Regions from separate parts of the Homo sapiens genome. Here regions 1 and 2 are each linked to region 3. Evidence: promoter capture Hi-C in human tissues and cell types (Jung and others, 2019). All regions are on one chromosome and are shown on one strand. Each heading gives the region's core, a stretch centred on a gene start or on the middle of the fragment in contact. The rest is flanking DNA. Distances are from core to core; before and after follow the strand shown. Region 1 overlaps ZNF287 (zinc finger protein 287). Region 2 overlaps CCDC144A (coiled-coil domain containing 144A). Region 3 holds the start of FLII (FLII actin remodeling protein).

Region 1 (3,926 bases), core at 191-2,690, 1.7 Mb after region 3:
AGCGCCTTCCTTTGCATTACTCTGTTATTTCCTGCCTTTGTATGTTTTATGTAAATAATGCATTTATAAAGTCTTCCACTGATAAACAGAGGCAATTGATGCCCTTATAAAATAACAGACTAGTAATAGTGGAGAACCCTAGATCTTTGTGTATTTTTCCCACTTTTACAGTTGTCTGACCCGCAAATTATTCAACAGTTTTTAGCAAATAGCCTTATTTTCCAGAACTTTTTATTATGAGTTTTCAAATATATAGAAAGTTTTAAAAATCATAAAATTAACTATATACCCACCTAAATTTAAAAACTAACATTCTGCCGTATTTTTTTTAACCAAACATTGGAAAGTAACTTACAGACATGACATTTCATCTCTAAATACTTCAGCATGCATCTTACAAAAATAAGGATGGTCTTTTACATAACCACAATACATTTACATACCTTTAAAAAAAAAACAAATAGTAATTCCCTAATATCTGAAGACTTAGTCTGTGTTTAAATTTCCTCTGTTGATCCAGTCAGTTTTCACACATAGTATTTGATTATCTGTTTCATCTATCTAGAACAGTCCCCACTTTGGTTTTTCCTTTTTTTTGAGACGGAGTCTCACTCTGTCACCCAGGCCAGAGTGCAGTGGTGCAATCTCGGCTCACTGCAAGGTCCGCCTCCCAGGTTCACGCCATTCTCCTGCCTCAGCCTCCCGAGTAGCTGGGACTACAGACACCCGCCACCACGCCCGGCTAATTTCTTTGTATTTTTTTAGTAGAGATGGGGTTTCACTGTGTTAGCCAGGCTTGTCTCGATATCCTGACCTCGTGATCCACCCGCCTCAGCCTCCCAAAGTACTGGCATTACAGGCGTGAACCACCGCGCCCGGACAGTTTTTCCTCTTTAAGAGAGCAGGTCAGTTGTCTTGAAAAATGTCTCATGTTCAGGATTCAACTGATTATTTACATGTGGGTTGTTCCGGTACCCCCTGTAGTTTCCATAAATTAGAAGTTAGGGCAAAAGGCTTGATTGGGTTGTTTAAACATTTTTAATGATAACACCTCACAGATGTATTTCATAGTGCATCATATCAAAAGTCTCATTAATATCAGGTTGACTCATTATCAATGGATCACTCATTTGAGGTCACCAGATCTTCCCAATATAAAGGTAGTTTTTCCTATTGCAATTAATCTGTGGACTGACACTGGCAGCACATGGATATTTTGATTGCCAACAACTTTTTACCTGGTAAAAAGTAACCAACGGTGATCGTTGCCTGAATCCATTGTCTCATCAATGTTTGCAAAATGACAATTTTCTAATTCTATCACTCTACACTTGTTGAGTGGCATTCTTGTATAATGTTCCCTCATCAACTAGGAATGCACTAGAGGCACAGTCAGCAATTATTTTACCTTAATTACCAGTGTAGGAGTTTAATTACCAGTAAAGAGTTTGATGCTTTCATCTGCAGTGATAACACATGATTCAATGTGTTAAGTCATTTATGATCATTGTTTCTGATGTTCAGATTGTCCCAAATTTGGCCAGGTGGAGCCCTTCAAGTATCTCTTATGTCCTTTTGACATTCACTCTCTAGTCTTTGGACACTTGATTGCCTTCTAACACAAGATATCTCAAGTTGGCCTTGCATTTTCAATGCCCCAGGCCTGGAATGAAACCTTTTTCCAAGAATCCCTGGCTCCTTTTAATAGGTAGCTATTTAGAAACCAAGATCTGGGCACTAGGGATTCTCACTGCTCCCGGAGTGTCACTGGCAATTCTTTCCAACCATTCAAGTTGGTTTTCATAAAGACAACTCTTCACTCATGCCATCAGTTACCTAATATCTGTGTAATGAGGGATATAATTACATAACTGGGATAAACTTTCGGGTGCAAACAACTAAATCTTGTTAAGCATGCACCTAAATTGGAGAGAACACTTCCATGTTATGTATGCTAGAAAGCAGCAAATTAGCTGCAAAAGGCCTGTGACAATGCCATCAGGAAATTTACAAGGGAATAGAACTTGTCAGTTAATCTGCCAAGTGGGTTAAGTAGAGGGCAATTAAGAAAGCAACTAGATGTATACCTAATACGTTGTGTTTTAACTATTATATGTCTATAACTTACGGTGTTTATAAGCTAATAGCCCTCCTTTCCCATCACATCTCTTAAGGCAGATTTCTGGTAAGATCTAAATATTAATCCTAAGGATCTGTTTCATGCAAATCTAAGTACTAGTTTTTCTTACTAAACCTTTATTTGGTCTCTAAAACTTTAAGGCTGTTATGTTTCATTCTTTGTCTTCTGGTGTCAGTTCACTTGCATGTGCCCGAAAATGTATTCTTACTCCTCTGTTTCTGTTCTCCCCATGGCTCTATCTTTCATAATTATTAGCCCCTTAGAACACTATAACCATTAAAAATGGCAAGCATGTGCACTACAGTGATATGTACAAATGCGTGTGTGTAAACAGCATCGAGCCCTGCACTGTGTATGAATGGGGAAAGTGAAGCCCATGATGCTGAAATGTCATGCTTGAGGCCATATGTCATATAATGACAGAATAAGGATTGGAACCGCATAGCTCCAGCACTTAGTTGAGTTCTTCTTGTAAAATAATGTTAAATGGAAATTCTGAGTACAAAGAGTATGTACCTACAATTTTATAGAATTATGTATTTTTATGAGATTAGAGCACTGAAAGTTTTTTAAATCTGTTTTTGTCTTCTTTCCCATAGAGTTTCTTTTTTGTTGTTTGTTTTGTTTTTTGTTTTAAGGAGCAGAGAGTTTAATAGGCAAGAAGGGGCTAGAAGGAAGGGAGAAGGAAGAAAGAAGCAGCTCACCTGTACAGAGACAGGAGAGGGGGCTCCAAAGCCGAAAGAGAAGGTCCCCACCTGCCACGGATACCAGCTAGGTATATATACAGAGGCTGGAGAAGGCAGTGTTTGATTTGCATAGGGCTCAGGGGATTGGTTTGACTAGGCATGTCTTCAAATAGCCAGAGGAAGAGCTGGCCCTCCCACCCATATGCAAATATGGGGCGCCACGATGTTCTACACACGTAGGGATAGGTGGGGGTGGCCATGTTGCCAGGAACATGTGGGGCAAGGGCAAGAAGGCTGTGGGAATTGACATGTTGGGTGGACCCAGTTTCTAATGGCCTGCATTTGCATATCAAAGGTTGATGGCCTGACTGTAAGAGTCGGGGCTTTACAAGAAACTTTTCTGGAGATGCTTTAAAAAACTAAAACTTCCCAAGGACCCCTTTGCCTCTCTGCCTAAAATAATTTCTTAATAACTCCTACCACATTCCTCCCTGTGGTGATATCACACTATCTGCTGTTAGGGGGTTTTGGGCGACGACTCTTTCTGGCTACTTCCTGCTGAAAAGGGGCGTCAAATGGGGAACAGCAGTGAGGGCTCCTCCTAGGGTCAACTTAAGGGTCCTCGGGAGAATGGCGTGTCCATATGTGGTTCAGTTTGCAGTACCATTTGGAGTTTGACTGCTTTGAGGCGAGAAGAAACAGTTCGAGTTATGGTACTGAGTATACAGGGTCCAAATATCAATACAAGACATATAAGCAGGAGAGGGCTTGATAAAGGGGCTGACCAATTCCATAAAGAAGATTGGAATTCATTAAAGAGGGATTGTAGCCATCCAGGGCTGGAGCCGGCATTTTCCCTGAGCCTGTTAATAATTTTGATTTCATTCTTAAGTACCTGTAGATTTTCCTCTACTAGAGGTGTTAATCATTACTAAACCCAATAAAAAGTGCTAGCAGACTCAGTGATAGTAAAACTTTCATGCTTCCTTTTTGTCAGTAACTATTATCCCTGCTATAAGGATAATAATTGAGCAAAATACAACAGCAATGGAAACTCTGTCCAATATGTCAGTTAGAAGGTGCTACCACGTATAACCCTC
Region 2 (3,562 bases), core at 443-2,942, 1.5 Mb after region 3:
ACAAAGTCTCTTATTCCTTTAACCCACTATCATTCTCCATAATTTGCAGAGAAGTTTTAGGGGCATCATATTGAATTATTTGGGCCTGAGTCAATAAATGGCTCCCATAATAAGACTCTGAAAATAAGACTCTAATTAATACATTTTGAAAAAAAAAAAAGGATTCCAATACCATAAGCCTTTTGCTGAACTGCAAATGTCTTACGCTAATTTGAGTTACATTTCAAAGAGTAATGATACTTGGAGTTAAGAAGCAATCACATCTCCCAGTATAAAAGTTCAGTGGCATGATCCATACCATTTTTCTGAAGAAAAATGCCTTAATTCAGTAGCACAATCTTGTAATTCATTGTTACTTTACACAAAATAAGGGAGCACATTAAAGAATGACAACAAAAAATTGCACTGAAATTTCAATGGTGCTGAGTTGGAAATAACTGCTTTCCTTTAGAGGAAATAATTATGATTGTTTTTTATTTTATAAAGGTAAGTGAAGTGGTGGTTTTAAAACATCTACAAATTGCTTGCCACTTCTCCCATGACATTCCCTCTCCTAAATACAAGCTGGCATTGACAACCGGTTTCTCCGGAACACAATGTGGCAGAACTGCTGTGTGACTTCTAAAGTTGGTTACAAAAAGTCACACAGCTTCTACCTGACTCTCTCTCTAGGGACGCTTGTCCTTAAAATGCAGCCAACATGCCGTGAGAAAGCCCAAACCATACCATGAACCCTCATGTAGGTAGGTGTTCGAGCTGACTTCCCTACCTAACGTCCCAGCCAAAAGCCAGCTTCGAATGCCGCACAGGTAAATAAACAAGCCTTTAGATGATTCTAGTCCCCAGCTTTAAGTCACCTCAGCTGATGCCAAGTAAAGAAAAAGGGAGTTGGCCCCACTGAGCCTTGCCTAAAACTGCAGATTGTGAACAAAATAGATGTTGTTTTGAGACACTGCATTTTGTTATATACCAAGAAATAACTGATACAGATATTGACACTACATATAGATTGCACAACAACAACACAACAAAAACTACTAAAACATGTAGGATTACCATTGGACCAGGAGCTAATCAGAAGCTGAAAGGACCTACAGAAGAATAAGCACAAAAACAAGAAGAGTTTTAAAGAGACTGTTAGTGGAAGCCTGATGGTCCTCGAAGAAGCTGGTAGGAAGGGCTCCAGGATAGTGAAGAAAACGATACGGGAACCTGAAGGAAAGGGCACTGTTACTACACAGCCGCTGAAAGTAAAACCAATGCAAGAGATAAGCTAAAGAAAGACTACTACATATAAAAGAACCAGGACTTTCTAGGTTCAGTATCCTTTTTATAGCCTCTCCACATGTCAGATTCCCAAATATAGACAGTCCTTGACTTAGCATGGTTCGACTCACCATTTTCTGACTTTTTATAATACTGTGAAAATGATATGTGTTGAGTAATGACATGATATGTGTAAGCCTTTTGGCTTACAGGGGTGGTTACATCAGGATAAAGTCACTGTAAATGGAAATTATCGTAAATGGAAAACCCACCCATAACTTCTGATATTTACAATTTATGATGGCCTATAAATTACAAATATCAGACATAACAAATGCAAATGCCATCCAGACATAAACCCATCCTAATCTGAGGAGCATCTGTATTGCTGAGATAAATGGCCTCTGAGATAAGATCAAATCCAGGGTGCTGCCAGGAGAAAGTCTGAAGGTGAAGCCAAGACTGTCAGTGTAAGGCTCTATTTTAAGACCTTAGAAAGATTTAAGGTGGTGCCTCAAATTCCCTTAAAGATCTTAAGGGTATACGCATCTTAAGGCACTGTCGTACTACACAGAACAGTGTGCTTCCTTCACAGGAAGCACAAGGTGAAGTGCTTATCTCAAAGAGATTGGGACAAGTGGTTTTTCCAATGACAAGAACTCAAGTAAAATTCACAAGAGACTCTAAGAGAATTATAGTAACAATAGCACTGCTTGCTAGCTTGGCTTAAAAGACAACAAGACAGTAAAAATGAAAAGAGGCCTTAGGACCTAAGAGCTTCTACAGGGAGGAAGCTGGCTGAAGAAACTACTTAGCTGAAAACACAGGTCATTGCTTATGAAAAGGATACAACAAAGAGCCAAGAAGGTACCACAAAAAGCCACAGAGGATGGTTCCCATGAAGTCCAAATCAAGTAAGTGGAAGCACACATCAGGCTGTATTTCAGAATTTCTATGGTCTAATATTCCCTTTGTGACTCCCATTTTCTCTCTGTTCAATAGGAGGGTCTCTGGCAGTTTAGGAGAATGCTGGGTGGGTGAGTGGTAGACAAGTTGTCCCTTTAGTTCTTACGTCTTTGTGTTGACAAGAAATGCACTCAAGGGGTTATACCGCAGAAACCACAACCCAGGGTGCATCCCTACCGTCTGTGATAAAGATGGTAGGATCTTGCACTTCAAGCCTGAGCTTGCTGCCATATTAAATGAAACTTGTGTGTGTGTGATGGGAGGTTAGGATCTTGCACTTTAAGCCTGAGTCTTCTGCCATATTAAATAAAACCTGTGTGTGGGGTGAGAGGTAATAATTAGAAATTAGTGTGTTTTTCAAGTGGTAGAAATCTTTTAAATTATAGTTATAGGGTCAATTGTGCAGGTTTTAAAACACGTCTATACATTCCTTAATATGCACAGCATAGACAGAGACATCATCGAGATGGCTGACTGGGAATACCCAGCACTCACCTCTTTCAAAAAGAAAAACCAAAACAGCAAGTAGGTAACCACACCTTGAGGAAAACATCAAAGAGAGTATACTGGAATTCAGCAGGAAATTGATAGGGATCCTCTGATGACAGAAGGAAAGGGAACTGAGGTAGCCAGCCCAACCAGGATCATCTCAAAACCAGGACCGATTCCCCCAAATCCCTAGCCCCACAGCACCATATACCTGTGGAAATAGGTGGTCATCTAATAGCCCACCAGGGAAGCTACTCTAGGTCAAAGGGATCCTAAGTGTGTGCTGTCTAGAGCCTAGGAGCCACCTGACTGACACCACTGCCACCACCAGCAGCCCTATCCCCTTCAGGGGCAGTGCTGTGCATACCTGTACATACCTTTAGGAGGCCGGAGGACTGGCCCACTCAAGTGTACCATGCAGGAGCCTGAGAACAAGCCTGTCAAGCCCACCAGGGGTGGCGCCCATGTGAGCCATATGAGAGCCTGAAGACAAGGCCACTTTGCTTGCTGCTGCTATTGTTGCTATCAGTGCTCACATACACTGTCCAGGACCCTGAGGAGCAGCCCACCCCACCCAGGCCTCTGTGCCTTTACCCAGGCCCCATCTACCACTAATACCAAGGAGAGTCCTACTGCCCCACCGGCACCTGCACGTGGCATCCAGGAGCATAAAGACAGGGCTGCCTCACCAGCCACTGGCAAAGGCTCCTGCACGTGTCTTCAGTTAACCTGTGGACAAGCCTGCTCCACACACTGCCTTAGGTACCCACCTAAATGTTCCTCATAGGGGGCCAGAGAAATGCCCATGCAGCCTGCTTTCACCACTACCAGTGCCCATGCA
Region 3 (3,573 bases), core at 224-2,723:
AGGGGCACAGCGCCTACCCCTGCCACCTGCTCTGTGCGAGCTTGTGTGGGCCATTCTCCACCTGGGCATCAGTTTTTCTCCTGTAAAATGGGGACACTAGACCCCCTCCTCCCCTGCGAAGGATGGTTGGGCATATAACAGCTGTGGCTCATTTATTGGGGTCCTGCTATGTGTCAGCCAGGGCGAGCCCCCTTGAACAGCAAGGACCAAGACGGATGCTTCTCTTCTGGAGCCTCCCTTTGTAGGGGGGTACGAGCACAGGGGTGCTGACACTAAGTGGGAATAATAACCTGGCGCACAAAACAAAACAAAACGGAATAATAACCTGCCACTCACTGAGCGCCTGCTGTATGCTGCGAGCTACACGTGCATTCTTTGTTAATTTGCTCATGGTGACAACCTTAGAAAGTATTTTACAAATGAGGAAACTGGGTAGGGCGCGGTGGCTCACGCCTGTCATCCCAACACTCTGAGAAGCTGATACCAGAGGATCACTTGAGGCCAGGAGATCAAGACCAGCCTGGGCAACATAGCAAGCACCCCGTGTCTACAAAAAGTATAAATAAGGCCGGGCGCGGTGGCTCACGCCTGTAATCCCAGCACTTTGGGAGGCCGAGGCGGTTGGATCACGAGGTCAGAAGATCGAGACCATCCTGGCTAACACGGTGAAACCCCGTCTCTACTAAAAATACAAAAAAAAAAAAAAAAAAAATTAGCCGGGCGTAGTGGCGGGTGCCTGTAGTCCCAGCTACCCGGGAGGCTGAGGCAGGAGAATGGCGTGAACCCGGGAGGCGGAGGTTGCAGTGAGCCGAGACTGCGCCACTGCACTCCAGCCTGGGCGACAGAGCGAGACTCTGTCTCAAAAAAAATAAAAAATAAATAAAATAAATAAATTTAGCCAGGTGTGGTGGCCTGCGCCTATAATCCCAGGTAGTCGGGAGGCTGAGCCCAGGAGTTCGAGGCTGCAGTGAGCTATGATCACACCACTGCACTCCAGCCTGGGCAGCAGAGCAAGAAGACCCTGTCTCAACAAAACAAAAACAACACATGAGGAAACTAAGTCCAGAAGCAGGAGAGCTAGGACCCGAGGATCCAGGTGTCTCACTACCACCGGTCAGCCAAGTACAGGCACTTCCTGGGCCTCTGCGCCCCGGGGCCGAGGTTTAGAATCTCTCTGAGGTCAGGGCCAGCTTCATGTGCTGCAGCAGCGCAGGTGACGGTGCCTCGACCAGCGGCCGTTACGGCCCCTGCCCTGGGGCGCTGGGACTTAAGCCTGGAGATCGTGGAAGCCTCCAACTCCAGCACAGGGGGGGCCCGCACTCCTTGGTGCCTCCGCAGTCTTCGAACAGACGGGGAAACTGAGGCCCTAAGAGGCCTAAAGCCTACACTTCCCCGCGGAATGCGGCGGGCGCGGGCGGGTTAAAGGGGCGGGGCCGGCGCTGGCCCAGCCCGCGGCTCCCCCCAGCGCCCTCGCCCCGGCGCTCCCTAGCCCGGCGCGGCCCGGCAGCGAGAGCGGCGCCATGGAGGCCACCGGGGTGCTGCCGTTCGTGCGTGGCGTGGACCTCAGCGGCAACGACTTCAAGGTGAGCCGGGCCGGGCGCGTGCCGGGCCTCCCTGCAGGCCTTCTCTTCCGCCCGGCCCGCTTGGCCTCCGCTTCCTGTCCCGCTCGGCTCCAGGCCCTGCGTGTCCCAGGGACTGCGGCCGGGGCGGGGTGGGGCTCTCCCCTGGCCAGGAATGGACCTCCGAGGCCTCCGCCCAGTGCCTGTACGGGGAGACCGAGGCTGGGCAGGCCGGGGACGGACGCTTGGGCTCGGAGTCCCGCCGGGGGCCCGGCCGGGAGCCCCCACCCCGCGTCCGTGTTCTCGGTCTAGGCTGGATGGTGGCCTGGGGATCGGGCGAGCCTCCCCGCCCCTCTGAGGTCACACGCCCAAGCCAGGCCCTGACTCAGGGATGGCTGCCCGGCTGCCCAGGGGCGGGTGTGGAGCCGACTCATCACTGCCCTCTCCCCGCCACCGCCACCCGCCATACTGTGTGATCCTGGGCCTCTCAGATCACTTCCCCTCTCAGAGCCTAGGCTTTCTCAGCCGGTGAAGGGGCTTAAAAGTCTCCTCCTTGGACGCAAGGAGTATAGTGAGATTTGTTGGTGTGGAGAGTGTGTCAGGCCGGTGTGCCAGGTGCTGGGTGGCAGTTGTCTGAGCAGCTGCTGGACTGAGAGAAAAGGGACCGGAGCCCAGCCCTCCGCAGCCAGTGGGTGGGGCGGCGGGGTGGTTCCAGGACTCAAGAATGAGACAGGCATTGCCTGACCAAAGGGGAAGCAGAGAAAGAGAGGGAGGGAGAGCTGGCTGGAGGGTCAGCCTCACCTTCAGGGTGGGTGACTGGCAGGGTCGGCCTGGGTTGTTGGTCTGGGGCTGGGGCCGAGGAGGCAGGTTTTTCCTGCGTTTACCTGCCTGTGTACACACCTTTGACCCCAAGTACAAGTGGCTACACCACTTTTCCCTGACCCCATCCCCACCACCCTAACCTGGGGTCCCCGTTCCTCTTTGCTGAACTGGGAGAGTCCGAGTCACCAGCTGGGAATGTGGCGCTAGGGGGAAAGGAATATCAGCCGCAGGCACTGAAGGCACCTACTGCCCCAGACTTGGTGCCACAAGGGCTGGAGGTGCCGAGGTGGGCGTTCACACACCAGGGGAGTGCAGTGATGCTGGCCTGCCCTGCAGGGTGGGGAGCCACGGTCTCCGCAAGCAAGGGTTTGACCCTGGCCGTGAGTTGCCAGTGTGCTGATGGCAGGATGAGGGCACAGGTGGCGCCTTTGCAAAGGCTTGGAAGGGGGATCCCCCACCCCAGGCAGCCAGTCAGAGTGTGGAATGCTAGGTGAAGGAATTTGAGCCGAGCTAACCACAGAGCCGGATGCTGGGCTTTCACCTGAAACAAGCCAGTTTTGTCCTGGCCCTCCTGGGGCCCAGAATCCAGTAGGAGAGACAAATCTTAGGCCAACACTTTTGTCACGGGGGGGCTTAAAATTCCCATTCTATGGGTGAAGAAATTGAGGCACAATGATGAAATGACTTGTCTGTGTTCTCACAGATGGTGAGAGTTGGTTCTGTGGCTCCCCAAAGGCTCCCATGGGCTGGAGGAGCCATAGAAGGTGGTGAGCAGGGGCTCTGTGCTTCACCTTGACATCCTTCCCCCAGGGCGGCTACTTCCCTGAGAATGTCAAGGCCATGACCAGCCTGCGGTGGCTGAAGCTGAACCGCACTGGCCTCTGCTACCTGCCCGAGGAGCTGGCCGCCCTGCAGAAGCTGGTAAGGGGGTTTGGGCGGGCAGGGGAGGGTCCCTGTGGATGAGCCAGGTGGGCAGAGCCTGTGGAGAAGGCAGACAACTTCTCCAGAGAGAGGAACACCGACAGCTATGAGCAGAGCTGGAAGAAAGGGAGTGGGCACCCTGTCCAGGGAGGTGTGCAAGAAGAGGCCGGGTGAGTGAGGGAGGGAAGCTGCAGGGGTAGTTGGGCCAGTGTGGCTGAGGCCTTCCTGGATGGTGCAGAGTTGTGGAGGCAGGCAGGGACTCTGGACACCC

Evidence for each region. Contacts are between HindIII fragments. The study calls those that stand out against the background at their distance.
Region 1: a fragment that was not itself captured here is called in contact with the fragment with the promoter of FLII in region 3 in 1 of the 25 tissues and cell types used here (dorsolateral prefrontal cortex).
Region 2: a contact is called between a fragment that was not itself captured here and the fragment with the promoter of FLII in region 3, in 1 of the 25 tissues and cell types used here (dorsolateral prefrontal cortex).

What each region holds. Positions count from the first base shown.
Region 1 is chr17:16,545,471-16,549,396 of GRCh38, reverse strand. It overlaps ZNF287 (zinc finger protein 287), which reads left to right. Exons shown (of 6, transcript NM_020653.4): 6 at 1-2,443. Among named protein-coding and RNA genes, the nearest start is that of ZNF287, 22 kb to the left of the region's middle. The HindIII fragment of the contact is 5,711 bases long and covers 1-3,926 here.
Region 2 is chr17:16,757,231-16,760,792 of GRCh38, reverse strand. All of the region lies in intron 12 of CCDC144A (coiled-coil domain containing 144A), which reads right to left. Among named protein-coding and RNA genes, the nearest start is that of FAM106C, 30 kb to the left of the region's middle. The HindIII fragment of the contact is 6,812 bases long and covers 1-3,562 here.
Region 3 is chr17:18,256,638-18,260,210 of GRCh38, reverse strand. It overlaps FLII (FLII actin remodeling protein), which reads left to right and starts at 1,473. Exons shown (of 30, transcript NM_002018.4): 1 at 1,473-1,583; 2 at 3,192-3,302. The coding sequence starts at 1,521. RefSeq lists silencers at 1,382-1,781, 1,792-1,931 and enhancers at 1,601-2,102, 2,102-2,181, 2,841-3,507. The HindIII fragment of the contact is 13,885 bases long and covers 1-3,573 here.